7 separate regions of the Homo sapiens genome follow, and regions 2, 3, 4, 5, 6 and 7 are each linked to region 1. The links are contacts of gene promoters, found by promoter capture Hi-C in blood cells and fetal thymus (Javierre and others, 2016). All regions are on one chromosome and are shown on one strand. Each heading gives the region's core, a stretch centred on a gene start or on the middle of the fragment in contact. The rest is flanking DNA. Distances are from core to core; before and after follow the strand shown.

Region 1 (4,039 bases), core at 799-3,298:
TATGATTAGCTGATCTACCCTAGAGTCAGTTTATCAATGTTTCAATGCATACATCAATTCTATTTTTTATTATTTCAATTTAAATCATCTGTGTCTCTATTCCCTCCCTCCCTCCAGAGGCTGCTTTCCCACACCCTTCTTTTCACCTGCATTCTAAGTATTCCCTTGTTCTTTCCTTTAGCTCCCTCTGTTCCAAAAGTAAAAACGAACTGCAGGAACTTATGTAGAAGGCAGGTTTACTACAGATAGCATACCTACATGTTACATATTATATACCATATGTTGGCTAAATACAGCTAGCATATCCTGCTTTAAGTGCTTCTGAGCCTGGGCAGACCCCCGTGTGCTCATGCTGCTGATGTGAACCATCCACCATCATATTTCCTAGGGGTTCAGGTGCCTTCCTCCAGCCTGCTGAAGAACATGACCAAATCTCAGAGCCCTCAAAGCCACAGCTATCGAGAGGTGACTAAGCCCCTGCTTCTGTCAGCCCAGGAAGGCCAATTCAAGAGTCTTATCTACCCCCTAGATTTCCACGACCTGTTCCACTCAAGCTAAAAATTCTGAAACGCACTTTTAGAAACTGTCGTTCCAGAATCCCATTAGCTCTCCTAAAAGGGCTGAACATCAAAAAATTATTCAACCCAAGCCAAGTATCCTTATTTTGGCTGGAATTCTGCCAAATAACCACAAGAGACTGGTGCGGTACAATCGGCATGGAGTGAAGCTTGCCAAATTTGACCGGAGAACGACAAGCCTCCATGAATAAGCTCTCATGAAAAGGTAAACCATTCTTCAGGATGAGGTTTGTCTGCGATTTGAAAAGTCAGATTCAAAGGACTCTTGTTCCTTCCTAAGAGAAGAGGGAACCAAAATTGAAATTTTCGAAACTCCTGGGTATTTACAGTTCACTTTTACCAAGATGTTTTTAAAACTAAAAACTAAAATTTAAAAAAAAAACCCTTGTTCTGAATAATGCAATAATGTCTTCTACATAATGTTTCAGCTATTATTTCTAGAAAGTAATTCTGTTGCCAGTGATCTTGAATGTACTTGGGTACCAAAGAAAAAAGACACCTGTGCCTGGCAGGTCGATACGCTACTAATTTGCCCGAGGTACGAACGAAACAGAAGATGCTGATTTCTGGATAAAACGTTCTGCAGTGCCAGGTAAAAGAGGTCACATGCCCTGAACGGCCGCCGCTCATTTAGAGTGATGCAAAAGCTCCTCAGATATTAATTTTGTTAGAAATTCGGGGAATCAAGCAACCTAAGATCAATTCATTTAGACAGCGGGTGACTGGTACTTTCCAGTTTCCTTTTTTCAACGGACTCAGTGCATCCTAGCCTGATCTCTTATAAAGGGGTAGGCAAACTCGGCACCAGGTGCCCATGCATTTCAGGGAGGTACACACAGGACCTGCAGGGTCACCCATGCACAGCCCCACCCCGAATCTTCTATCCGCCCGAGATGGGGAAGACCCTTCCCCAGAAATCCTGGGCAGCGTTTTAAGTCACCGCCTGGCCAGGCTGAGTTTCCGTCCGCGTCCGCTCAGGACTGCGGGCACAGCGCCTCGTCACGCCCCGCATCTCCCACCTCCCGCCGGCCCCGGCGGCTGTCCCCAGAGCTGCGCCCGCGGCCGGCGACACGCGCCGCAGCGGCGCGCTTATCCGCAGCGGCGCAGCCCGCCCGCCCGCTCACTCACGCGGGAGGCAGCGGCGGCGTCTCCATTGTGGCTCCTCTCGGGCTTCAGAACGCAGGCACCGACCAACACAGCCAGCACCATTCCAGCCGCGGACGCCGGCACTGCCCGCCCGCCGAGCCGCGTTCCATCCGCCCCGGAGGGGGCGCCGCGCTCTCCTCACCGCGCGCCACCACCTGCGGCGGCGGCCCCCGCGGCCATGGCCCGCTCGGCCGGGCGCGCTCCGTCTACTGCGCGGCTCCCGCGCTCGCCCGAGTGCGGGGCGGCGGCGACGGGACCGGCGGGCGCGCGGGCTCGGCCACTTCCGGGTTCGGCCCCGGCCGGCGCCGACGCTGTGACGGGACTGCGATGCGGCCTCCCGCGGCGGCCGAGTACCCCTCCCTCGGCGCCTCCCCTTCCTCCTGCTGCTGCTGCTGCCGCTGCCGCTGCCGCTTCTGCTTCTGGAGGCGGGCGGGCGGGCGCCAGCCGGGTGCGGGGCGGGCGTGCCCAGACGCTGGCCCGCAGGCCGGGACGCGGGCGGCGGCCGCCCACAGCGGGTCTCTGGATCGCCGGGACGGGGGCGCTGGAAAATGGGAGCGGAGGGGGTTCTCCGTGCAGAAAAAGGGCGGCCGAACGCACGGCGTAATAATGCTCGGTATCCACTTGCTGCTCTGCTTCGCGGGCGTGTACACGTTATTCTTTTCATTTGTGCCTGTACCCAGGGAGATGGGAAGGGTAGGCATAACCAACCAGTGTCCTTACAAAGGGTGGCACTGAGGCAAGAAGAAGTGATTTGCCTGTCCAGTGTCCCAGGCAGGAAGCAGGCTCTCCCTCCTCAGTATGCTAGCCATTCCTTGGACAAGTGAAGTGAGCACCTGCTAAGCAAGGTTTTAGTGCTGCGGCTGTGACAGCAAAACCAAGTCTTTCTGCTTGTGGAGCTGTCCATCTAGACGGGGTGACGGAAACAGTAAGTGATGCTTACCATGAAGAAACATAAATGAGGATGAGGAGAGGGAAAGAGATTTTAGAAAGAGTGGTCAGAGAAGGCCTCTCAAAAGGCATGAGTTAAAGAGATGGAATAACAGGGGCTTTGAGTAATGCAAAGAATGCCTAGGGCAGAGGGAAGAGCAGCGTGGAGACTGCTAAGCAAGATCCTGCCTGCCTTGTTGAGGAACGGGAAGGAGAACAGTGCAGCTGGTGGTTCTCCAAGTATGCCCGCTGGAAGCAGTAGCACCTGCGAACTTGTTAGAGATGCGAATTTTCCAGTCCCACTTTAGCCCTACTGAACCAGAAACTCTGGGGGTGGGGCCCAGCAGCGTGTGCTTTAACAAGCTTTCCAGATGATGCTTGCTGGGGCCGCGAGGGTGGGAGACCCTCTAATGAAGCAGAGTGAGGTCAGGAGGACGGCGGCAGGAATGGGTGTGGCGAGGAGTAATCACAGATCACCCAGGCCTTGCAGGCCGTGATAAAGGACTTGGCTTTTACTGAGATTAGAAGCAATTAGAAAGTGGTGAGTAGCTTGATCTGATCATTAAAAGGATGACTTTTCTGGGATTTGTTTGAAAATATCCCACAAAAAGAAGGACAGAGGTCGGGCGCCGTGGCTCACGCCTGTAATCCCAGCACTTTGGGAGGCCGAGGCGGGCCGATCACCTGAGGTCGGGAGTTCGAGATCCGCCTGACCAACATGGAGAAACCCCGTCTCTACTAAAAATACAAAAAATTAGCCGGGCATGGTGGTGCATGCCTGTAATTCCAGCTACTCGGGAGGCTGAGGCAGGAGAATCGCTTGAACTAGGGAGGCAGAGGTTGCGATGAGCCGAGATCGTGCCATTGCACTCCAGCCCGGTCAACAAGAGCGAAACAAACTCCGTCTCAAAAAAAAAAAAAAAAAGGACAGAGAAGTGAATAGATGAATATTTGCAAAATGTTAATTTTTGAGGCTAAGTGTTGGGTGCATAGGGGTGGTCATCATTTATGTGTGTTTATGTGTATGTTTTAAAAGATAATAATGGGCCGGGCGCGGTGGCTCACGCCTGTAATCCCAGCACTTTTTGGGAGGCCGAGGCGGGCGGATCATCTGAGGTCAGGAGTTCAAGACCAGCCTGTCCAACATGGCGAAATCCCGTCTCTTCTAAAAATAGCCGGGTGTGGTGGTGGGTGCCTGTAATCCCAGCTACTGAGGAGGCTGAGGCAGGAGAATCACTCGAACCCAGGAGGCGGAGGTTGCAGTGAGCCGAGATCGGGCCACTGCACTCCAGCCCAGGCAACAGAGCGAGACTCCGTCTCAAAATTCATAAATAAATAAAAGTTCATAATACAAAGTTTTTTTTAAAAAAAAAGATGACTGATTGCTG
Region 2 (3,579 bases), core at 731-3,230, 1.6 Mb after region 1:
GGTCAGAAGCCAAATAGAGATCCCACTGGGCTAAAATCAACATGTTAATAGGGCTGAATTCCTTCTGGAAACTCTAGAACTCATTTTCTAGCCTTTTTAAGCTTCCCCATGCCACCTTCCTCAGGGTTTCCCTTTTTTCACCTTGAAAGCCATCAGTGTAGTATCTTCCTCCTTTCTTACCTCTATTCATATTCTTCATCTTCTCTCTCTGACTAACTCTACTGCCTCCCTCTCATAAGGATCCTAATGGTTACATTGGGTTTACCAGTATAATTTGCATAAATCTCCTCAACTCAAGATGGTTAACTTAATCACATCTGCAAAGTCCCTTTTACCATAAAAGGTAAAATATTCACTATCCAAAGATTAGGATGTTGAGATATTTGGGGGGACCATTATTTAGCCTACTATACCTTCTCTTCAAATATGACCTGATCTCTTGAGTTAGAATTTGTTCCTTTTTCTCTGGATTTCAGAATCATGATTACATAGTTCCAATATGAGAATTTTTAGAATGACTTCGAAATTTGGGGTAATCTTTTTACCTTTACTGTTATTTTCTTGGTGACGAAATTGTGCATTTCATCTCTGCAGTCAAACAGGCCTGAATCTGGACCCAGATCTCCACCCATAGTGGAGCCAGATACCTGGTCCAGATCTCAGCGTTACCACCTATCAGTGAGAAGCAGCCCCAATTTTTCAGTTTCCTCAGCTGTAACATGTATGTAATTATAGTATTTACTACAAAGATTTATTGTGAGCATTAATGAATATATGGAAATGGCTTAGAACACTGATAAGCACATATTATTCACTCAAAACTGTTAGTTATTATTACTTTCCACTTGTGAGATTATTGTAGAATTAAAGAGACAGTAAATAAAGCTACAGCACAATGCCTGGAACATAGAAAATTATCCCTACATTCTAGTTTTTTATTTATCATCATAACCTATATTAAATACAACAGGTTAAAGTCAAATAGAGTGAAGAAAATACTGTTTCAAAGGTAGGACTTTAGTGAAATGCACTCAACTTTATGCTAATAATCTGATGTTTCAGGCTTTCTTATTTTCAGACTTAGTATGGTTATAGGGTTAAAAGATATGAAAGGCCAATAGTGTTGCAAGGGATATATTTTATTAGTTTCATTAATGAAATTTTAATAGCAATAAATTCAGGCTTTTAAATATTACAAAGTATTTTCAAATATCTCATGGGGCCTTGATGTTAGCTTCAGGAAGTATCTAGCAACCTAATGGCTGTTTGATTAGACTTCTCAGACTATTATTATCCTTGTCACATAATAGTGCTTTAGTCCATGTATCATAGGATCTTCAAGTATTATTCATTTGTTTCCAAAGCAAATTGAGCTATTCCACTCAAATGATTACAGTAAATAGAATAGAAACTTGTGGAATCATCTTCCTCTCTCGTAAATGAAGTAACAGCAAAATAGCGCAGCATCTCAGCTGTTCCAGGTTCCTCAAATAAGTTTTACTTTTGCAAAACCAACCTCAAACTTCCTATATTCTCTGTTCTGCATTATAAGCAACATGACCAGCAGCCACGTTTGTTGTAATTTTTTAAATATGTGGAAAAAAAGCAAGATATCAACCATGTATTACCTTAACCAAGATGCCAAATTATCTAACTTGTTTCTCCAGGCAAGCAGCCCAACAACAGGGACAGCTCCCAGGAGCCAGTCAAGGTTGTCTGTCTGTCCATCCACTCAGGACATCTGCAGGTAAGTGCTGAACAAATTATCTTAATCTATATTCTTTGGATCAATATTCGTATTCTTGTTGTTTGTTCTGAGAATGTGTGTCTCTTGCTTCTGCTTTACATGGTCCATAGAAAATTTATACTGGCTATTTTTTTTCATTTAGTTCATTTTCTTCAGTTGATCTTTATTTATCTACTTCTGGTCCATGCTGTCATTTTCATCATTCTCTCTCTCTGTTTTTCCATGGCTTTCCTCTCCATTCCCATTTCCCATCCTTTGCCTGCTGCTCTGTCTAGATCTGCCATCTTGCATGACATGTCAGAAGAGTCATTTGAGTATTGCACCCCTGTCATGGTGCTGAGCCCTGCTAGGAAGGAGTCTGGTAAGAAATCAGTAATACAAAGACCTAGGAGGAGGAGAAAAGCCTCTGAGAGATATGAGCATGCTGCAGAAGAACAAATAAGAGGGAGAAAAAATGACTTTCACCTTCAAATCTCAAGCCCCAGGTGGAGGGAGCTTTACACAGATTCTTCAGATTCATCTTCCACAGATGAGAGTCATTGGATTCAGGCAAAAAGAAGAGCCCAGGTTAAATTCAGACTGTCAAGAAGAAGGAGGAGAAATAATAATAAGCCGTGTGAAAACTTAGCTGGGTCTTCCACTCCTAACGGAATTGAGCTCGTTGATCTGGGATCCAAAGGTAAAGAGCAACAAGAGCTGATTGAATGTGAGAGTTGCTCTTTAAATCTCCACAGAGGAAAACATACAAGGTACCAAGAATGCAACCCTTCTCTGACTCAAGGGTCCTCTGAAATTAAGAGATCCTCAAGGAATCATGAGAAGAGCAAAGGCAGATATCACCACAGAGATCCTCAGCTCTTGCAAAGTCTTAGGAAAAATGAAATAATGAAGAAGACATTTTCAGAAACAGATTCCAGCACTGAAATACTGGGAGTTCCAGAAGGCAGCAAGGACATGAATGATGCAGGGCTCCAGGTGAATAACCCTGTTCAGAAGCCTCCTGCCACCTATGACGATGGGTCTGATAATTTAGAAGTATGCAGGTCAGTCACTGTAGAGAAAGGCTTGATGTCATCCATATATAGTTCTTTTTGCAGTGAGTTAGGTGCGTGTTTGACACCTACCCTCAAAACTTAACATTTATTTACATTGTTCTTTTTCTGATTGGATATAAAAGGAGAAAAGGTGGGTATGAAAAGAATAATGCAGATGTAAACATGGGTGTGAAAGCTGTTACCAAGTACAATTAGATATCCCCTTCCTTTAAACTGAATAATGATTTATCCTGGTAAAGGGGCTGACTCAGCTGAGTCTTGCACTCATTCTAGTTATGACAGTAATAGTGGGGGAATTAAGAGTGAGACTGTGTGAAATGTTAGACTTTTCAATGCAAATTTGCTGGCATCCTGACAGAAAGATATTCAAGGCTTGAGTTCTTTAAGGTCAGATTTTTGTATCAGAAAATAACATTCTCTGCAGTTGGCTTTAATTTGTTCTCCAATTGTTTGACTCAGCAGGGTAATTGAAGACTCAAAGGACACAGAAACAGGTCAGGGACGTATCAGTGGGGTTGCAAGAGCCTGTAGGGAAGGGGGCCACATTAACTTTACTGATAAACATATACCGAAAGGTTTCAACATGTGGATATTTTCTAGCTATGTGGCAGCGTTCTTGCTCTTTTTAACTCAACAGCATATATTTTCAAAATAACCTTACATAAAAAGAATTATAGGAATATCCAAGCTAGTGTGCATAAATGAGACAATTTCAAACAAAAAAATATATTTGTACATTTTCATATTATACCTAATCATTTAAGCTGTTTAGATTCT
Region 3 (3,445 bases), core at 7-2,506, 1.6 Mb after region 1:
TCCGTAGCTTCACTCTCAAACTGAGCTCAAGCAGTCCTCCCGCCTTGGCCTCCCAAAGTGCTGAGTTTACAGGCATGAGCCACTCGCTGGCTTATACCATATTTTCTTTCTCTATTGATAAGTTGATGGACATTTAGGTTGTTTCCGTAGCTTCACTCTTGTCAATAATGCTGCAATGAACATGGGAGTTCAGATACCTATCTGAGGTCCTGATTTCAATTCTTCTGGATACTTAGACGTGGGATTGCTCGCTCATATGGTATTTCTATTTTTAATTCTTTGAAAAACCTCCACACTGTTTTCCATAGCAGCTGCACCGTTTTTATTCCTAACAGCGTACAAGGGCTCCAACTTCTTCACATCCTCAGGAGCATTTATCTTGTTTGGGTTTGGGTGTGTGTGTGTGTGTGTGTGTGTGTGTTTGTGTTTTGATAATAGCCATTCTGATGGGTGCGAGGTGACATTTCACTGTGACTCTGATTTGCATTTCCCTGATGATTAGTGATTTTGAACACCTTTCTATATAGCTGTTGACCATTTGTATGTCTTCTTTGGAGAAATGTCTTTTTAGCTCCTTTGCTCATTTTTTAATGTAATCTTAATTTTTTATTTAAATTATGTAGTGGGTTCCTACTCAACTAAATACAATTAAAGTTAGTTTGTGTGTGTGTTTGTGTGTGTGTGTGTATTGGCACTGGTTGAGGGAAATACCAGGCTCTGTGTAATCTTTATTTTTCAGCATGATATCTCCCTACTAAAGTAATTAATTGTATTATTATATCATATAATAATAATGTGGTATTATTGTATATACTAAATAAATATACTAAATATATACTAAATATTGTATTTAGTTGGAGTAAGAACTTTCATGCTCTTTTCATACTTGGCCACATAATGTTACCAAATTACCCAGTCAATCCTACTTCTAAGCATTGACTGAAAACATCTTCTATGCCTAGTATATTCTACCAACATCCTTCTCCATCTGCCATAATTCTACCCCAGCTTCAATTCCAATTCCCATGCCACATCTTCCATTAAACTTTCTACCCTCCCCCGGTCCCCAATCTGAGATGATCTTTCACTCCTTTGCATACAACAGCACTTGACATGGCACACATCCCATTTTAAATGTATCCTGTCTAATTTTGCAGTTGTCTGATGCATAAACTGTCAATATAAACTTCTTAAAGGAAAAAGACTGAGACTAATTCATCTTTATATTTACCATAGGACCTTATAAAACCTTGCATATATACATAAGCAACAAATTACTTGTTGACTGAATGAATGAATGAATGAGTGAATAAATGAATAAAAGTTGATCATTCTTCACTCAATGTGGTTGGAACTGCTGTAAAACATCAGTATTTTGTACTTACTTGCCTTTGTAGAAGAATTCATATGCAAAGGCGTATTTCTAATTCAATGCATTTTTGGTTATCTGTAAATAAAGTGCCTGCTTTGTCAATTATCCATGGCAACTTGAGACTTTCTTTGATGTAATGCTCAGCCAGATAAGATTAATGAGTGGACAAAATTGGAAGGAAGTCATGGTTGAGGATGAGCTTAGAAAAATTCAAACACCTAGCCATCACAAAAAAAAGATCAGAAAATCAGTTTGAATTAAGAATTTCTGCCACATGCAGAAATGAAAAAGGCTAAAAGGTTATAACTGCATAATTTTTCTGATAGCTGTTATTATGTATATACAAAAGCCTTCTCCTGTATCTGACCATATATATTTCTTTGATTATAGCTACATATTAAAGCCAAATGAGTTTTTATTATCTGTCCCTTTGTTTTGCCTTTTTACTTCAATGTATGCAGCTAACAAAAATTTAGCCTAATAACTGTAAGCACATTTGCTTAGAAATATCTCTAGTTTAATTTTGTCAGTCTTACAAATGCACCCAAAAAGACCTCAAAGCTGATATAAAATGAATATTTATGACATATGCAAATGTAGAGAAAATCATAACCTTCGGATATTCGTTCAATATATATTATCTATTTACTTATCCACAAGTCATCAAAATTGTAAGGTAGGATCTGGAAAGATAAATGGCACTGGGGAACTCATTTCCTTTATGCAGAAATACATGGTCCTCTGAGCTAACCAATGAGTATAGAGAGGGCAGTAAAGCGATGGTTAACAGGGAAGGGATTATCCTAAAAGATGCAATCCAGCTTTTGATTTCTCCTGATTTGGAGGATTTGGACAGTCTGAGCTGATCTTAAGATTGCTAGATATACTGACTGGGACTCCTAGGGGCTACACACATCAATAGAGGGAATGGGGGAATCTTAATGTGTTTCAAGAGCCCATGGAGACCTCTCAGATAGTCTTCAAAGAGGCTCCGGCCCACTATGAGACTGAACCACTAGGCTAGATGATAATAGAATCTCAGTGGGAATCCTCAGTCCCAAGCAGAATTTAAAGTCCTAGTATCAATGGCATCGAACCATCTCCAGAGGGGATGAGACACCCAAGAGAAGCAATTCCAATAGAATCTTCCCAATCCATTGCAGAATTCAATGTCTGTGAATTCAAATAAGACTTGGCCTCCTCTGCTTTCATTATTGACCAAGCAAGGTGATCATTATCTTCTTCTCCACTGTTTTCCATCAGTGTGATGTCTGGTGGTGAAAAAAAAAAAAATGTGGCTGATTACTTGCGACTCTTGGATCAGCTCCAGGAATAGAGTTAGGAAAGCCAGGGACATTGCCATGTCATTGTCTTTGTTGTTGATCATTCCCTACAGCTCTGTGCAGATGGTCTGAGGTTTTGACCAAGTCAGTGGTGACAAATTAGGGCATGAAATTAAACTCAGGAAGTCATGCTATGTAGCAGCTTTTTTGAGTTGAAAATATTCCTTTGAGAAAACAAAACACTTTTAAAAAATCACATATGTATGAAGAACTGTCACTCGTCTGCACATGTAAAAAAGAGTACATATTCAGAATGACAAAACTTATGATTACAAAAATGGTATTATCTGTTGGTAAAATATTTTTATTCTTATGTCATGATTGTATTTTGAACTTGAGTTTTCAAGGTATTTTAAATCTCAGGCTGAATGATGGCTTAGGATATTTATCTTCGTTTCTGTTAAGGAAACCTTAGAAATCTGGCTTATAATGCCTTTTTGTTTACAGTCCAAAATTGCTTGCTGTCTCCATGTCAATAAGAGTAGCTGCAAACAGCTGTTAGTCTGAATGATATTAACTACTGTCCATCTTGTTCTCTATTTATGAAGTATGTTACTTCTCCTTTCCACTGCAGATCAGTTTGCTTGACTTCCTCTGCTGCTCAGATAGGGTATAAAATTGTTACACCTCAATTCAGTTCCTCAAATGCAAATTAAAGAGTTCATGGTATATAAAAGGATCACAATTTCTCACTTTCACTGTAAGTGAATTTTCCCGAAACATAAACAAA
Region 4 (3,756 bases), core at 191-2,690, 1.7 Mb after region 1:
AACAAAGTCCAGCCCAGACAAATTCTGTGCTCGTCAAGATTATAGCATGACACAGTAAAAATGCTTATGTTAGAAAGTGAGCTCATACTGCACACGGAGAAATAACATGGAAGTGTAACAGTGGGAAAACTTATTTCCAGCTGGAAATGACCTCTAAGATGGGTTTTGTGGGACAAGTAGACACATAGAAGCAGGGAAGCAAAACACAGAAAGAAAAAAGATCGGAGACAAAGGCTCAGAAATGGAAAACTTCCAGGCATGTATAAGGAACAGCTGCTAGTTTGGTTAAGCAGAGGAGAAAGCTGGATGTAGTCCATGAGAATTTCCCTAAAAATGGGAAATAAAGCACATTTCATCTCCAGTCTGTCTGTGGTTAAAGCTTTCTAAACACATTGAAACTACTGCTTAATATAAGTTTACAGCAAAAATCCTTTTGAATTTGGAGAACTGCAAGATGTCTTGCTCATATTCCAAATCCTTTCTGCAAATTTCCCAATAAAGAGACGTAAGTTATTGTCTTCCACAGCAGGGATTCTCAACCTCAGCACTATGGACATTATGAACTGAATAATTCTTTGTTGGAAGGTACTGTCCTGTGCATTGTAGGATGTCCAGCAGCATGCCTGGCCTCTAATAAAAGTCAGAAGCACCCCACTCCAGGTACAACAATCAACAATGTCTCTAGACACTGCTAAATGTCCCCCAGAGAACAAAACTGCCCCCAGTGGTGAACCTATGGTCTACACTGAGTCAGTGTTTCAGATGATTGTTCTCCTTGCATAGATGAAGACAGCCAAGTAGGAACTTAAGAAAAAAAAAAAAAAGCCCTTCTATATTCCAAATGCATGGACTCTCTGCATAGAGAATAATTTAGCTCTTTTTATTACTAACTACCGTTTGATGCCACTGTGTTACTTAGCATACAGGAAAAATGGACACAGGCGTCCAGCCATGTATAAATGTGTGCTGCCACTTATCTGGGACTATTAGAATCATCACATACTCCTGATTATTCTTCAGAACTCTTTAAATCACTTATGAAGACTTTGCCTTGGAGTATTTTTTAAATAAAAATAGCAAGTTAACTGCTATTTCCATGCAATACACAAATCAAATTTCAACACTATCAAAGATTACTAGGTCAAGATCATTGGGTAATAAGCTCACCTTTGGCATGAAATAGCAAAAGGGGGAGAAGAAGGGAGAATTGAAATAGATGGTCTTTAAAGGCCTTTGAACTCTGAATTTTTAGTTCAGTTATTTTGCTGGAACACCAGAAAAATCAAGAATAAAACAATTTGTATTGTATCAGCCTGATATTTTCTTTAAAAACTTTTTTATAAGAAAAATGATTCTTTTATATACCCCCCTCAATTTTTTTTCCAAAAATGAATAATATATGCAGGAATACCTAGAATATGTTAAAAGTGTGGAACGTATGTTTCGTTATGAACGATACTGTGAAATCTTTAGATGAGGAACTAGTGCTGTCAAAGTAGAACAACATTTTTTAAAAGTTGCACTAATGGTCAAAAATTATTATTACTACTTTAAAGTATTATATTTGTCTATAAGTTACTTGGGAAATTTATAAATAAGTATAAAGCAATTCATCTCATAATTGTATGTAATTATTTCTGTATTTTTTATCCTAAAATGAAAATGTTTCTGGAGAGTATTGGAATACATGATACAGTACCACTATTACCACTAGATAACAACAGTGCTATTATCGAACACGTGTTCGTTGCAAATGCATTTGTATAAATAAATCAAATCCAAGTAGCATACTTCTATTTTTAAAATTCCTATCCTTAAGATCAAAGAAGTCTATAGGAGAAAGGGACCATGGAAACATTTGTATACGACTAACAGACACTGATTAATGATAAATGCCTGGTATAGTCCATTTTCGTACTCTAAAGTTTCTAAAATCAAAGGTCTGTTTTCTTGACGATTTGTTTTCTAACATCTTTTAGCATCTTCTCTTAAGTAAATATATTGATAATTGAATCTGTTCCTTCAAAGAGTTTAACTCCATGATACACTAATTAATTTTTTTAAATAGCGACTTGGGTAGGGAGAGACATGAAACCGTCAGTCTTTCTCCTAGTTTTATTAAGAAGTTCAGAGTTACTCTATTTTACTCCAAACAACAGCATTTAATTAGTTAACATTAATAGGGTTTCTCCTGGACTACGATGTAGGGAATTTGCAATATTGTGAAAAGGCATCTTCTTCCTCTGGGCCAGATGGCAAAAAGATTTTTTCTCATGCCAACTCCAGAAGTTGACCTAGATTGTGGTGTTAGGAACCATGAAGCTATCATAGGGATTAGCAGGAAAGAGTGTTGGTAGTAATTAGGGCACGAATGCTGTGTTTGCCAACCTCATGACAGATTGCACCTTTTTCTCCCTGGAGTGGGTTCTGAAAGATTAGTAGAAGTTTATTGTAAAGAGCGCGGCACTCTAAACAGAGGAATAGCATGTGCTAAAGCTTAAACCTATATTAGGATGTGCAATGTTTGGAAAACAGCTACCCAGATAGGACTTTGGATAAAGTTTACTAAGAAAGGCACTGGATGAGAGAAATCAGGCAGCTGAGGATGACGATAAAATAAATAGAGGTATAGATCATGAGCATTTATTGTGCAAGACTGCAGCAAATTTTAGGCACAATAAACTCCATTGGGCATGGCTAAAAAGAAATGGAGTGTTTTTGTGCAATAGTTTCCATAAATATATCATGCATACATTACCAATTTCCAAATACCTAAATGCTCACAAACCCATCTCTTACTCGAAGAAATTCTATAAACTGACCTAGACACAGTGATGAATTCATGGAACTAATCTCTCAAGTAAGGAGCTAATATATATAAATATATATATATATATTATATATAAAAGACTATTTTTGGAGCAGATTTAGGTTAACAGAAAAATTACAAAGAAGGTAAAGAGAGAGTTCCCACATACCACCCTGCACATACACAAGGTTTCTCCTGTTATTAACATCTTGCCTCAACGTGGTACATTTGTTACCACTGAGGAGCCAATATTCTTACATTATTAAAGTTCATAGTTACATTGGGGCTCACTCTTTGTGTTGTACAGTTCTATGAGTTTTGACAAACGTGTAACGTCCTGTGTCCACCGTTACAGAATCATACAGAATGGTGTTGCCGCCTTAAAAAGTCCCTGTGTTCCACCTATTCATCCCTTCCTTTCTCCTCCTAAACTGTTGGCAAACACTGATCCTACTATCTCCAGTTTTGCCTTTTCTAGAATGTCACATAGTTGGAATCACGCAGTATGTAGCTTTTTCAGACTGACCTCTTTTATTTAGCAATATACATTTAAGGTTTCTTCGTGTCCTTTTGTAGCTTGATAGCTCATTTCTTTTTAATCACTAAATAATACTCCATTACATGGATGTATCACAGTTTATTCATTCACAGATTGAAAAACCACTTGGTATTTCCAGCTTTGAACAAATATATGAATAAAGCTGCTACAAACATTTGTGTGCAGGTTTTTGTGTGGACGTAAGTTTTTGTTCATTTGAATAAGTATAATGTTGTATCATTTGAAAAGCTGTGGTTACCATTGTAAAAAACTGCCAGACTGTCTTCCAAAGTGACTGTACCATTTTGCATACCTATCAGCAATGAATGAGAATTCCTGCTTGTCGTTCCACATCCTTTCCAACGTTCAGTGTTTTCAGTGTTCTTTTTTAAAACTTTAGCCATTCTAA
Region 5 (3,887 bases), core at 1,226-3,725, 1.7 Mb after region 1:
TCCATGCAACTCCATGTATTTTCACAGAACCCAAATTTTTCTTTTTTCCCCCTCTTTGTCATGGTCAGCTCAAGTATCAGAAGACTTTTATGTTCTTCAATAGAAAGGAGATGTTTAAATGGGAATATTAAACCTTCCTGCTCCATTTTCAGTGTGGACGCTGAACCTTACCTCCTTGCTTTCTGTAAGAACAAATTACTGGAATAATATTAGATTGGTTTAACATTTAATTTCTATCCCCTGGCTGTGATCCAATAATGCTAGAGAAATGGACAACTGAATCTTCAGTGAAAAAGTATTCAACATGAAGATTTATAAATAATAATCATAATAGTAAATAAGTGGGAATGAAGGATATAGGCAAAAGAAAAGCAAGGCTAACCCATTTTTATTAGGTTTCCAAAGAGAGAGGAAAGAAAAACGACAGGCTATTAAAGAACTTTTAAATGAGTTCCTTTCATGTTCAGTTCTCACTCTTGAGCTTTAGGAAGAAAAATGGGAACTGTTCTAGAATGTGAAAAATTATCACCTATGTCTCAAAAAATTTCACATAGAAAGCATAAAGGCCTCAGGAATCATTACAAAAAAACACACCCCTTGGCATGGGCTCCCAAAGACCCAGACAAATTATTCTGGTATCCTTGGAACTGAATGAGATTCTTAGTCCCCCTGAAGCTTTCTTTGGTTCAAACCAACTGCTGTCTAATTAGAGGAAAACAGTATTTGGAGATGATAGGATAGGACAGCTTATACAGCAAAATAATTAAACAAAGTTGAATATTGCCATGTAAACACAAATGAGCATTTTACACTTTCTCCCATCACCCAGTAGGATGAGAATCAACATTTGGGATTTCATCCTAAATGCTGTAAATGAGGAAATTTGGCCAGTTGTGGTTGCAAAGTCATTTTTTGATTTCCAAACATACCGAGTCCCTGAACCACAAGTTTCATTTCCCGCCTGTGGAGATTATGTATACCTCCAACCCTTCCCTGCTATCGCTATTAAATCAATTCAAGGGAGAGCAGTTTAAAGCAAGGACTTTAACTTGGAAAATGTCTCCGATTTCTTTGAGAATCCATTGAAAATCATGGACCTTTCCCCAGAAAAAAATAAATGCACACAATATTTTGTATACAATTTAAGAAATTTCTATACCCCAAAAGAATCTTCTCTTTAAAAAAAAAAAAAAATCTTCAGTTTTAGGACAAAATTCTTAAGAAACGCTGAGTCAGTATGGTGCCAAAAACAAATTCAAATGTAATATATTGAGCCAATTAATCATGCTTGATATCAAAGTACTGATAAAATGGATTTTTAGATATAGTAACTAAAACACTATTTTTTAAAGTATTATTATATCCAAAACTGGAACCAATACTTCAAGTTTCACAGGCTCTCATTTAAACTGGAGTAGAATATATGTACAAATATATATTCTGTTTTATTTATATATAAATCGTATATATATGATTTATTTCAAGTGTATATGTGGCTAAGAGACTCTCGAGAGTAAAAAAAAAAATCAACTCAATTACATTAAATACAATGTTCAGATGTGACACTGCTATTAAAGAGTGCAAATAGGATGTAAGAATTTTTTTGACCCATGAGAATAAGCATCAACAATGGATTGTCAGTAGATGAGCTTACTGTGGGTAGATACAAATAGACGGTTCCAAAAAGATTCTCTTTTTATTTGCTGCCACCCAAAGGAATATTCTAGAAAGACATTTCTAAACATACACAACAGAATTGAGAAAGGGATAGAAGCACTTATGAAATCAAAACCTATTATCTCTTATTGATGGAAAATTACACAGTTCCCTATTTTAACAACTACACAAAATTCCACAATTGGGACCCTAATATAAGCTTCATCAAAGCAGAAATCTTGGCTGTCTTCTTCCCTAGCATCCTACAACAATGTCCGATACATTGTGATGCTTTAATAATTAGCTCCTGAACGAAAAAAAATCTAATAATGTCATCTAATAATGACTGGGTAAGTCAACTCAGTGCTCTGGGCCTCAGTTTCTTCAACTAGAAAATGATGGGGTAAAATTGGGTATTTTTAAAAGCTTTTCTCTTTTAATCTTCCCAGTGTCTGTGCTTCTGCTTAGTACACGAGCACTGTCTCCTAAACGGCAAGGCTATGATCACTTAGGCACAGAGAGTGACCACAGACCTGTGCAGATTCCACGTGTGCCATAGCTGTTCACTGAAGAGGTAAGAGGCGAAGAGCCCACAACAGAAATGGGCTTCCAGGGAAAACATCATCAATGGCAGTGTCATCCAAGAGTCCGCTCGGCAAGGGTTTCAACCTCTGGGGAAGAGAGACTATGCCACTGTGAAATGTAACCCAATTATTCCTTTTGTTTTCTTTATGAAGCCACAATCCATAATTAAGTATCCTCATGGACACAGCTCAGTAGATTTTCTGCTGGTTCAACATGCCTGAAGCAGTAATATACTGACTTCTCTTTCAGAATGTGTGATAAAATATCTTTCACCATAACCTCCGAGAGAAAACAGACAACCAAGTATTGATTCAATATTTTTAAAGGAACTTTGTTTAAATGCATCTATTAATTAAACTTTCAAGTAATTTGTGTTCTTACATGGTGATATTAATCAACTCAGATTTAGGTGAGTTTTTTGGGGGGATATGGAAGGAGGTGAAAGTATATTCACTCTGTGAAAAACCGTCAGATATTACAATGCCACTCTAAAATATGTCCCTGAACTTTTCCTTCCTTAGGGAAGTAATTGTCAAAGTTCAGCATATATAAAAATCTCTCGGAGTGCCTGCCAGGAATGCAGATTCCTAGGCCACACCCCCAGATATAAATCTGGAACAAAGCTTAGGAATTTGCAATTTTAACTTTTATCCCAACAGTTCCACTGCAAATGTGCCTAAATCCCACATATTATATCTACCCTCAGGACAGATATACAAACATTTTTCCATTTCTCTTTTTTCCATTCATATCATCATTATGCGTGATATCATTACTCCCTCTAGTGGATGATTTTACTCAGCACCTTTTTTTCTATATTACAAATATCTTGCTTAAAACTTTTAGGAAATCCCATCTGTCATGAAAATCTTGAAAGAAACCAGTGAGAGATCAAGACAAGGTTTATAAGAAAAATTATTTTGGTAATCTAACATTGGGCTCATATATATTTACATATGCATGTAATAAGTAATGTGCATATATTTTGTAGAGAAATTCTTAATCATCATTTAGTTGACTGAACATAAAATGGCTTATCTGTTTTATAAAAATAATTTGGTAGCTTTGAATTTACTGGTCACACTATTTTTAGAATATTTATGCCTGGTTTACTTCCCTGTTTACTATGTGCTAACTAGATTATCTCATATAATTCCAGCAAACTCTATACAAGAGACACTGTTGTCATCCTGATTTTACCAATGAGAAAACTGAGGCATTAGGAGGTTAGGTTACTTGACCCAAGCCAGACAGGGGTCTCTGACCCAAGTCTCCCTAACCCAGGAGTCTGAGTTCTTAGTTGCTTCGCTCCAAGCCTCTCTGACCATGTGGCTTCTAGCCTGTTCGACCTAACTACCACATTGTACTCCTCTCCCTCCACACCACCCCAGGCCTCCTGCTCCTACCCCAGCTCTCTCTGCTCTCCATTGTTCTTTCCAACACCTTCTATGTTCCCTTGGCCTCTGACTCTACTAATACCTTTGCATTTGGACAATTTCTCATCTGGCAGTTGTTAACACCTCTCTCATGCATCCAGCAGCACCACTGAGTCACAATTCTTAGTGGCGTATTCCTCACATTGTAAACTAACGTGACAAGCATATCAGTACAATATATATCTCTTACTATTACTTTAAATAAATGCA
Region 6 (3,852 bases), core at 179-2,678, 1.7 Mb after region 1:
AAATAATTAACAGCTTATATATGTTATTTATATAACATATTAATATAAAATTAATTTTATATAAACTTAATATATATTACATATATTGATATGAGTTTTTATATATAATATATATACTTTTATATATAGTATATCTTTCCAGATATTTTACTATATATATACTTTTATATATTTATATATATATATATATATATATCTTTCCAGAGTTCCTTTTACAAAATCTCAGAATGGTTTATAAGTATTTTACACATAATTTATAAAATATTATTTTCTATATAGTATAAAAAATTCACACGGTCTCACAGAATGATAGAGGGAAATTCACACTCACTATCTAGGGTATTAAATCTCCAAGACTACATTCTTCTCTTAATAAAATTGACCTTTGCTAATGTTAAAATTTTTTTATTTAATACTTTAGGAAATAGCTGTGCAATGTTTTAAATGAGTGAAAGAATGTGGGAACTTGGAAAGAAATGTTAAGAAGTCCCATGTTTTTATTCATGGGAACATTGCCTCATAAATCATTTTTGTACTATCATGTTTACTAATTGTGTGGATTTATTAGAGTTCTTTTTGGCCAAAATAATGGTGAGCTACCTGTGTTTATATTAACTACTTTCCTGTCAGCCTGTAGTAGTTTGCTATTATTTTACTGTGATTATTATTTTTTCTCTAATTCCCATCTTCTGTACTACCAGTTCTAGCCTAGTCTGCTTGTATTTCCTCCTCCTTTATTTGTCTAAAAAGATAAACAAGCTTTAATTTGCAAAGGACATGGAGAGTTATGGATACATGATGACCTCTTAAGAACTTCTCCAATGCCAACATTCCTGCAACAAGTCTTAAAATCAGTAGTGTCATATTATTACTATTTATTCTAATATGTGTCCTTAAAAGTTAAAATGATAGAACTAGTTGAAATAGCAAATAACATTTGAAATATTTTTCTGAGATATAATGCAAGAGATAATAAGTATAAAGAGTAACAACACCCCCTGAGTTAGTTGTTTACAACCCTGACTGAACATTGAAATTGCCTGGGGAAGATTTTAAAATTACTGACGCCTAGATCTATTGCCTAGAAATTCTGATATAATTGGTCTGGAGTGCAGCATGGACATGAGATGTTTTTAAAACTTCCCAGATAATTCTAAACTACAACTAATGTTGAGAACCACTGGTCTCAGACTATCTCCAGATTATGTTATTAACCTTGACTACCCATTATAATCAATGGATGTATTTTAGAAACATAGCTTCCCAGACTCCAGGTCCAGAAATTCAAATTCTATTTTTCTGGGATGGAACCAGGCATTGTGTTTCTTATGTGCCCTAATTTTAACGTGAAGTTAAGGTAAGAATTATTGCTCAAGAAACCAAGAGGTTTAACATCGCAATATGGGAAGGTATGATATATTATCATTGTGTTTTTTTTAATTGTTGTTTTATTGATGACAAACCATAACCTTGGCCTGCTAGAAGAGTTCAATGGCACAAATTTAGTTTTTTTTGTTTTAGACGGAGTCTCGCTCTGTCTCCCAGGCTGGAGTGCAGTGGCACAATCTGGGCTCACTGCAAGCTCCACCTCCCAGGTTCACGCCATTCTCCTGCCTCAGCCTCCCGAGTAGCTGGGACTACAGGTGCCCATCACCACGCCCAGCTAATTTTTTTGTATTTTTAGTAGACACGGGGTTTCACCGTGTTAGCCAGGATGGTCTCGAACTCCTGACCTTGTGATCCGCCTGCCTCGGCCTCCCAAAGTGCTGGGATTACAGGTGTGAGCCACAGCACCCGGCCCACAAATTTAGTTTTTTAAAGTAAGTAACTTTGTCTTAAAAATGATTTGTAGTAATAGTCATTAAAAGATAAACTGAGGCACATTAAAATATTAAAGCATTTATTTGACCATTCAGTGATTCATGAATCTGGTAGCTCCTGATAAAGGAGCCAAGGAGAAGGCTTTTATAGGGTGAATTTGGAAGCAAAGGAAAGATATTTGATTGGTTAAAGTGGAGTACTAGACTTATTTGGGTCATCCCAGTGGAAAGTCCCCAGTTAGAAGTTAGCTGGCAGTTTCTGATTGATTAAGCTTAAATTTCCTTTTTATCATTTACACTGATTTGGGTTTCCTTTCCTTAGGTAGGAACTCATGGAGCTGAAGCTACCTCAGCCTACTGGCCTTCTAATTATTTCAACACAGAAATAGTACTTTACGGCACACTGGAGTTGCAATTCTATTCTGCAATTGGGTGGTTTCAGATTTGTTCTTCCTATAAATTTTGGTCAAATTAGTCATTGCATTTCTTTCTATAAGTCTGAGATTCAGATATTTGGTTGCTCTGAGAAAGTCTCTGTTGAGATAGCATTGCCATACTGGTCAGATTGAAAGTGACTTTGTATCCTTTCTATTAATGTTCTGATATGAAAGAGTGATGACTCGGATATAGTGTTAATGCATTAAAAAAGCACAGCCTGACAAATCGCTTCCTATAATACACAGAAAAATGTCTAGTCTTGAATTTATAACACAGGGAAAGGTAAAAAATTTAATTATGCTTCCTAATGTTGAACATGCACGTGACAAAGTAAATACTAAAAATCCATTCAGCTGGGCGTGGACAGGGAGAGGGAACGGTGCACATCAGAGGGTGCAGGCTACTCCAACGTTTCCGTTTCCTCAGTCTCGCGGGAAGCTCCGTTGTGGGCGCCCCGGCTGGTGGCTGAGCTCAGGCCTTCAGGCAGAGGGGAGGCGAGGGCGGGGCGGTCACGTGAGAGCACTGCCGCGGTGGGTTGTGGGGGTGCTGCGGCGCCGTTTGCTTTGCCAAACCGACAAAAGAGAGATGATGGCCAACGACGCCAAGCCCGACGTGAAGACCGTGCAGGTGCTGCGGGACACAGCCAACCGCCTGCGGATCCATTCCATCAGGGCCACGTGTGCCTCTGGTTCTGGCCAGCTCACGTCGTGCTGCAGTGCAGCGGAGGTCGTGTCTGTCCTCTTCTTCCACACGATGAAGTATAAACAGACAGACCCAGAACACCCGGACAACGACCGGTTCATCCTCTCCAGGGGACATGCTGCTCCTATCCTCTATGCTGCTTGGGTGGAGGTGGGTGACATCAGTGAATCTGACTTGCTGAACCTGAGGAAACTTCACAGCGACTTGGAGAGACACCCTACCCCCCGATTGCCGTTTGTTGACGTGGCAACAGGGTCCCTAGGTCAGGGATTAGGTACTGCATGTGGAATGGCTTATACTGGCAAGTACCTTGACAAGGCCAGCTACCGGGTGTTCTGCCTTATGGGAGATGGCGAATCCTCAGAAGGCTCTGTGTGGGAGGCTTTTGCTTTTGCCTCCCACTACAACTTGGACAATCTCGTGGCGGTCTTCGACGTGAACCGCTTGGGACAAAGTGGCCCTGCACCCCTTGAGCATGGCGCAGACATCTACCAGAATTGCTGTGAAGCCTTTGGATGGAATACTTACTTAGTGGATGGCCATGATGTGGAGGCCTTGTGCCAAGCATTTTGGCAAGCAAGTCAAGTGAAGAACAAGCCTACTGCTATAGTTGCCAAGACCTTCAAAGGTCGGGGTATTCCAAATATTGAGGATGCAGAAAATTGGCATGGAAAGCCAGTGCCAAAAGAAAGAGCAGATGCAATTGTCAAATTAATTGAGAGTCAGATACAGACCAATGAGAATCTCATACCAAAATCGCCTGTGGAAGACTCACCTCAAATAAGCATCACAGATATAAAAATGACCTCCCCACCTGCTTACAAAGTTGGTGACAAGATAGCTACTCAGAAAACATATGGTTTGGCTCTGGCTAAACTGGGCCGTGCAAATG
Region 7 (3,653 bases), core at 146-2,645, 1.5 Mb after region 1:
CTGTATTTTTTTGAAAAAAAGAAAAGCATCTAGAAAAATGAAGATACTGGATTCAGGAAAAAGGGCTTCCAAAATAGGAGAGACACAAAGGGAATCCCCAGAATGATGGCAAAGAAAGTTGTCAGGGCAAAGCAACAGCTTGAAATCATGCCTAAAAAGCCAAAATTTCAGATCACAGAAGAACAGAAGGCTCCAGAGGAAAGTACTATGAAAAACAAAATAAAATTAATAGATTTTCTGATGTATTCGAGTGTGGAGAGAAAATATAACTTCTAGCAAGATGAGGGATGAATTTCAGGGAAGATCATAGAAAATTAAGCAAAAAGCAAAAAGACAGCTAGTAGCAAAAAGTTAGCATAGCAGGTGACTTAATATTCGTGTAGCCAAATTATTATACAATCTTATTTGGAGAACAGAAGAAAGAGATGGATGGGCAAGGGAGGAGTTCAGGAAGAATCAGAAAGACAACTAAATTTCCACAGTAACAAGTCAATAAACAGCATCCAATTAAATAAATAGTGATAATACAACCAAGATTATCAAATTTTTAGGAATACAAAGTGTAAATACCTAAAGAAATATAATACCTCAATGAGCTGAAGGTGATGTGTCTACAGAGGAAGAATCAGAGTGAAAATTATAACCTAGGTCTACTTTGAATTACATAATAGATGAGAAAGAATGGGGAAACATGAGTCAGAGAAAAATGGGAATTTTTTTGAATTTGGATTCTTTAATAGGCTCAAAATAAGTGTCATACAGAGTGTTTATTCACAGGCTTGAATGAGAATTGAAGAAATTCTGACAAGTTTAATATCCGTCTGTGATTAAGTCTGGCAGAATACAGGTCATTGAAACAGACATTTTAATTGAGTTTTATAAAACTATACAAATCTTCCAAGTGATCATAAACCAGTTTCTCATTACATGTGCTTTAACGCAACTTTTTGAAAGTCAAACAATTACAGTTTTTTTTTTTTAAGTTTTACTTTAAGTTCTGGGATACATGTGCAGAATGTGCAGGTTTGTTACATAGGTATACATATGCCATGGTGGACTGCTGCATCTATCCACCCGTCATCTATGTTTTAAGCTCCTCATGCATTAGGTCTTTGTCCTAATGCTCTCCCTCCCCTTGACCCCCACCCACCGACAGGCCCCGGTGTGTGACATTCCTCTCCTTGTGTCCATGTGTTCTCATTGTTCAACTCCCACTTATGAATGAGAACATGCAGTGTTTGGTTTTCTGTTCCTGTGTCAGTTTGCTGAGAATAATGGCTTCCACCTTCATCCATGTCCCTGCAAAGGACTTGAACTCATTATTTTTTATGGCTGCATAGTATTCCTTCATATATATGTGCCACATTTTCTTTATCCAGTCTATCATTAATGGGCATTTGGGTTGGTTCCAAGTCTTTACTATTGTAAATAGTGTTGCAGTAAACGTACATGTACATGTGTCTTTATAGTAGAATGATTTATAATTCTTTGGGTATATACCCAGTAATGAGATTGCTGTGTCAAATGGTATTTCTGGTTCTAAATCCTTGAGGAAACGCCTCACTGTCTTCCACAATGGTTGAACTAATTTACAGTCCCACTAACAGTGTAAAAGCATTCCTATTTCTCCACATCCTCTCCAGCAGCTGTTGTTGTTTCCCAACTTTTTAATAGTCGCCATTCTGACTGGTGCGAGATGGTATCTCATTGTGCTTTTGATTTGCATTTCTCAAATGACCAGTGATGGTCAGCTTTTTTCCGTATGTTTGTTGGCTGCATAAATGTCTTCTTTTGAGAAGTGTCTGTTCATATCCTTTGCCCACTTTTTGATGGGGTTTTTTTTTTCTTGTAAATTTGTTTAAATTCCTTGTAGACTCTGGATATTAGACCTTTGTCAGATGGGTAGATTGCAAAAATTCTCTCCCATTCTGTAGGTTGCCTGTTCAGTCTCATGATAGTTTCCTTTGCTGTGCAGAAGCTCTTTAGTTTAATTAGATCCCATTTGTCAATTTTGGCTTTTGTTGCAATTGCTTTTGGTGTTTTGGTCATGAAGTCTTTGCCCATGCCTATGTCCTGAATGGTACTGCCTCGGTTTTCTTCTAGGGTTTTAACGGTTTCAGATTTTACATTTAAGTCTTTAATCCATCTTGAATTAATTTTTGTATAAGGTGTAAGGAAGGGGTCCAGTTTCTGTTTTCTGCATATGGCTAGCCAGTTTCCCCAGCACCATTTATTAAATAGGGAATCCTTTCCCCATTGCTTGTTTTTGTGAGGTTTGTCAAAGATCAGATGTATACTTTTAAGATAACAGTGTTTAATGAAATTCATGAAAATCATGAATCCTTAGATTTAGGAACATTTATACCTTCTGAGTAAAAATCTAGACTAGAGAAATGTAGTGAATGCAATACACAAAAGACAATGAGGAAGAGCAGAACAAGAAAGATGGCTGACTCTAAATAAACTAATACCATATTTTTCAATGAAAACAATAAAATCCAGAGAACAACAGCATACTATTATGAAAAGATTTTATAAATTGTTAATATAAAATGATATATCCAGCTAAATCATTTTTTTTTCTTTTCTTGATCCTTTTTATTTTAAGTTCCAGGGTACATGTGCAGGATGTGCATGTTTGTTACATAGGTAAACATGTGCCATAGTGGTTTGCTGCACCTATCAACCCATCACCTAGGTATTAAGCCCAGCACACATTAGTTATTTTTCCTAAAGTTCTCCCTCCTCCCACATTCCCCCGACCATCAGGCCCCAGTGTGTGTTGTTCCCCTCCCTGTGTCCATCAGTTCTCATTATTCAGCACCCACTTAGAAGTGAGAACATGCAGTGTTTGGTTTTCTCTTCCTACATGAGTTTGCTGAGGGTAATGACTTCCAGCTCCATCCATGTCTCTGCAAAGGACATGATCTCTTTCCTTTTTATGGCTGTATATTATTCCATGGTCTTGATAGTAGAATGATTTATATTCCTTTGGTTACATACCCAGTAATGAGATGGCTGGGTCAAATGGTACTTCTGGTTCTGTGTCTTTGAGGAATTGCCACACTGTCTTCTACACTGGCTGAACTAATTTACATTTCCACCCACAGTGTAAAAGTATTCCTATTTCTCTGCAACCTCACCAGTATCTGTTATTTCTTGACTTTATAATAATCACCATTCTGACTGGCATGAGATAGTATCTCATTGTGATTTGCATTTCTCTAATGATCTTTTATGACATTGAGCTTTTTTTCACGTTTATTGGCTGCATGAATGTCTTCTTTTGAGAAGCATCTGTTGATGTCCTTTATCCACTTTTTAATGGGGTTGTTTGTTTTTTTCTTGTAAATTTGTTTAAGTTCTTTGTAGATTCCGGCTATTAGACCTTTGTCAGATAGATAGATTATAAAAATTTTCTCCCACTCTGTAGGTTGCCTGTTTGCTCTGATGATAGTTTATTTTGCTATGCATAAGCTATTTGGTTTAATTAGATCAATTTTAGCTTTTGTCGCAATTGCTTTTGGTGATTTTTGTCATGAAATGTTTGCCTGTGCCTATGTCCTGAATGATATTGCCTAGATTTTCTTCTAGGGTTTTTACAGTTTTCGGTTTTACATTTAAGTCTTTAATCCATCTTGGGTTAGTTTTTA

Evidence for each region. Contacts are between HindIII fragments. The CHiCAGO score rates a contact against its expected background, and 5 or more counts as called.
Region 2: a contact is called between a fragment that was not itself captured here and the fragment with the promoter of KLHL2 in region 1, in 6 of 17 cell types (M0 macrophages, monocytes, total B cells and 3 more). The highest score is 15.5, in M0 macrophages.
Region 3: a fragment that was not itself captured here is called in contact with the fragment with the promoter of KLHL2 in region 1 in 5 of 17 cell types (M0 macrophages, naive B cells, total B cells and 2 more); the score reaches 11.4 in M0 macrophages.
Region 4: a contact is called between a fragment that was not itself captured here and the fragment with the promoter of KLHL2 in region 1, in 1 of 17 cell types (monocytes). The highest score is 7.8, in monocytes.
Region 5: a contact is called between a fragment that was not itself captured here and the fragment with the promoter of KLHL2 in region 1, in 2 of 17 cell types (non-activated CD4 T cells and activated CD4 T cells). The highest score is 13.0, in non-activated CD4 T cells.
Region 6: a fragment that was not itself captured here is called in contact with the fragment with the promoter of KLHL2 in region 1 in 1 of 17 cell types (total B cells); the score reaches 5.7 in total B cells.
Region 7: a contact is called between a fragment that was not itself captured here and the fragment with the promoter of KLHL2 in region 1, in 1 of 17 cell types (M1 macrophages). The highest score is 5.1, in M1 macrophages.

The regions. Positions count from the first base shown.
Region 1 is chr4:165,205,570-165,209,608 of GRCh38, reverse strand. KLHL2 (kelch like family member 2) reads right to left here and starts at 2,048. Exons shown (of 15, transcript NM_007246.4): 1 at 1,707-2,048. The coding sequence starts at 1,732. RefSeq lists a silencer at 1,747-2,396 and an enhancer at 1,927-2,427. The HindIII fragment of the contact is 2,287 bases long and covers 730-3,016 here.
Region 2 is chr4:163,611,482-163,615,060 of GRCh38, reverse strand. MARCHF1 (membrane associated ring-CH-type finger 1) reads left to right here. Exons shown (of 10, transcript NM_001394959.1): 6 at 1,668-1,747; 7 at 2,023-2,790. Among named protein-coding and RNA genes, the nearest start is that of TMA16, 120 kb to the right of the region's middle. RefSeq lists an enhancer at 3,224-3,273. The HindIII fragment of the contact is 3,754 bases long and covers 104-3,579 here.
Region 3 is chr4:163,591,736-163,595,180 of GRCh38, reverse strand. The region is part of intron 7 of MARCHF1 (membrane associated ring-CH-type finger 1); the gene reads left to right. Among named protein-coding and RNA genes, the nearest start is that of TMA16, 99 kb to the right of the region's middle. The HindIII fragment of the contact is 4,571 bases long and covers 1-3,445 here.
Region 4 is chr4:163,532,822-163,536,577 of GRCh38, reverse strand. The region is part of intron 9 of MARCHF1 (membrane associated ring-CH-type finger 1); the gene reads left to right. Among named protein-coding and RNA genes, the nearest start is that of TMA16, 40 kb to the right of the region's middle. The HindIII fragment of the contact is 2,117 bases long and covers 382-2,498 here.
Region 5 is chr4:163,554,192-163,558,078 of GRCh38, reverse strand. All of the region lies in intron 8 of MARCHF1 (membrane associated ring-CH-type finger 1), which reads left to right. Among named protein-coding and RNA genes, the nearest start is that of TMA16, 61 kb to the right of the region's middle. The HindIII fragment of the contact is 782 bases long and covers 2,085-2,866 here.
Region 6 is chr4:163,472,726-163,476,577 of GRCh38, reverse strand. TKTL2 (transketolase like 2) reads left to right here and starts at 2,824. Exons shown (of 1, transcript NM_032136.5): 1 at 2,824-3,852. The coding sequence starts at 2,844. The HindIII fragment of the contact is 1,333 bases long and covers 762-2,094 here.
Region 7 is chr4:163,657,900-163,661,552 of GRCh38, reverse strand. All of the region lies in intron 5 of MARCHF1 (membrane associated ring-CH-type finger 1), which reads left to right. Among named protein-coding and RNA genes, the nearest start is that of TMA16, 170 kb to the right of the region's middle. The HindIII fragment of the contact is 5,960 bases long and covers 1-3,653 here.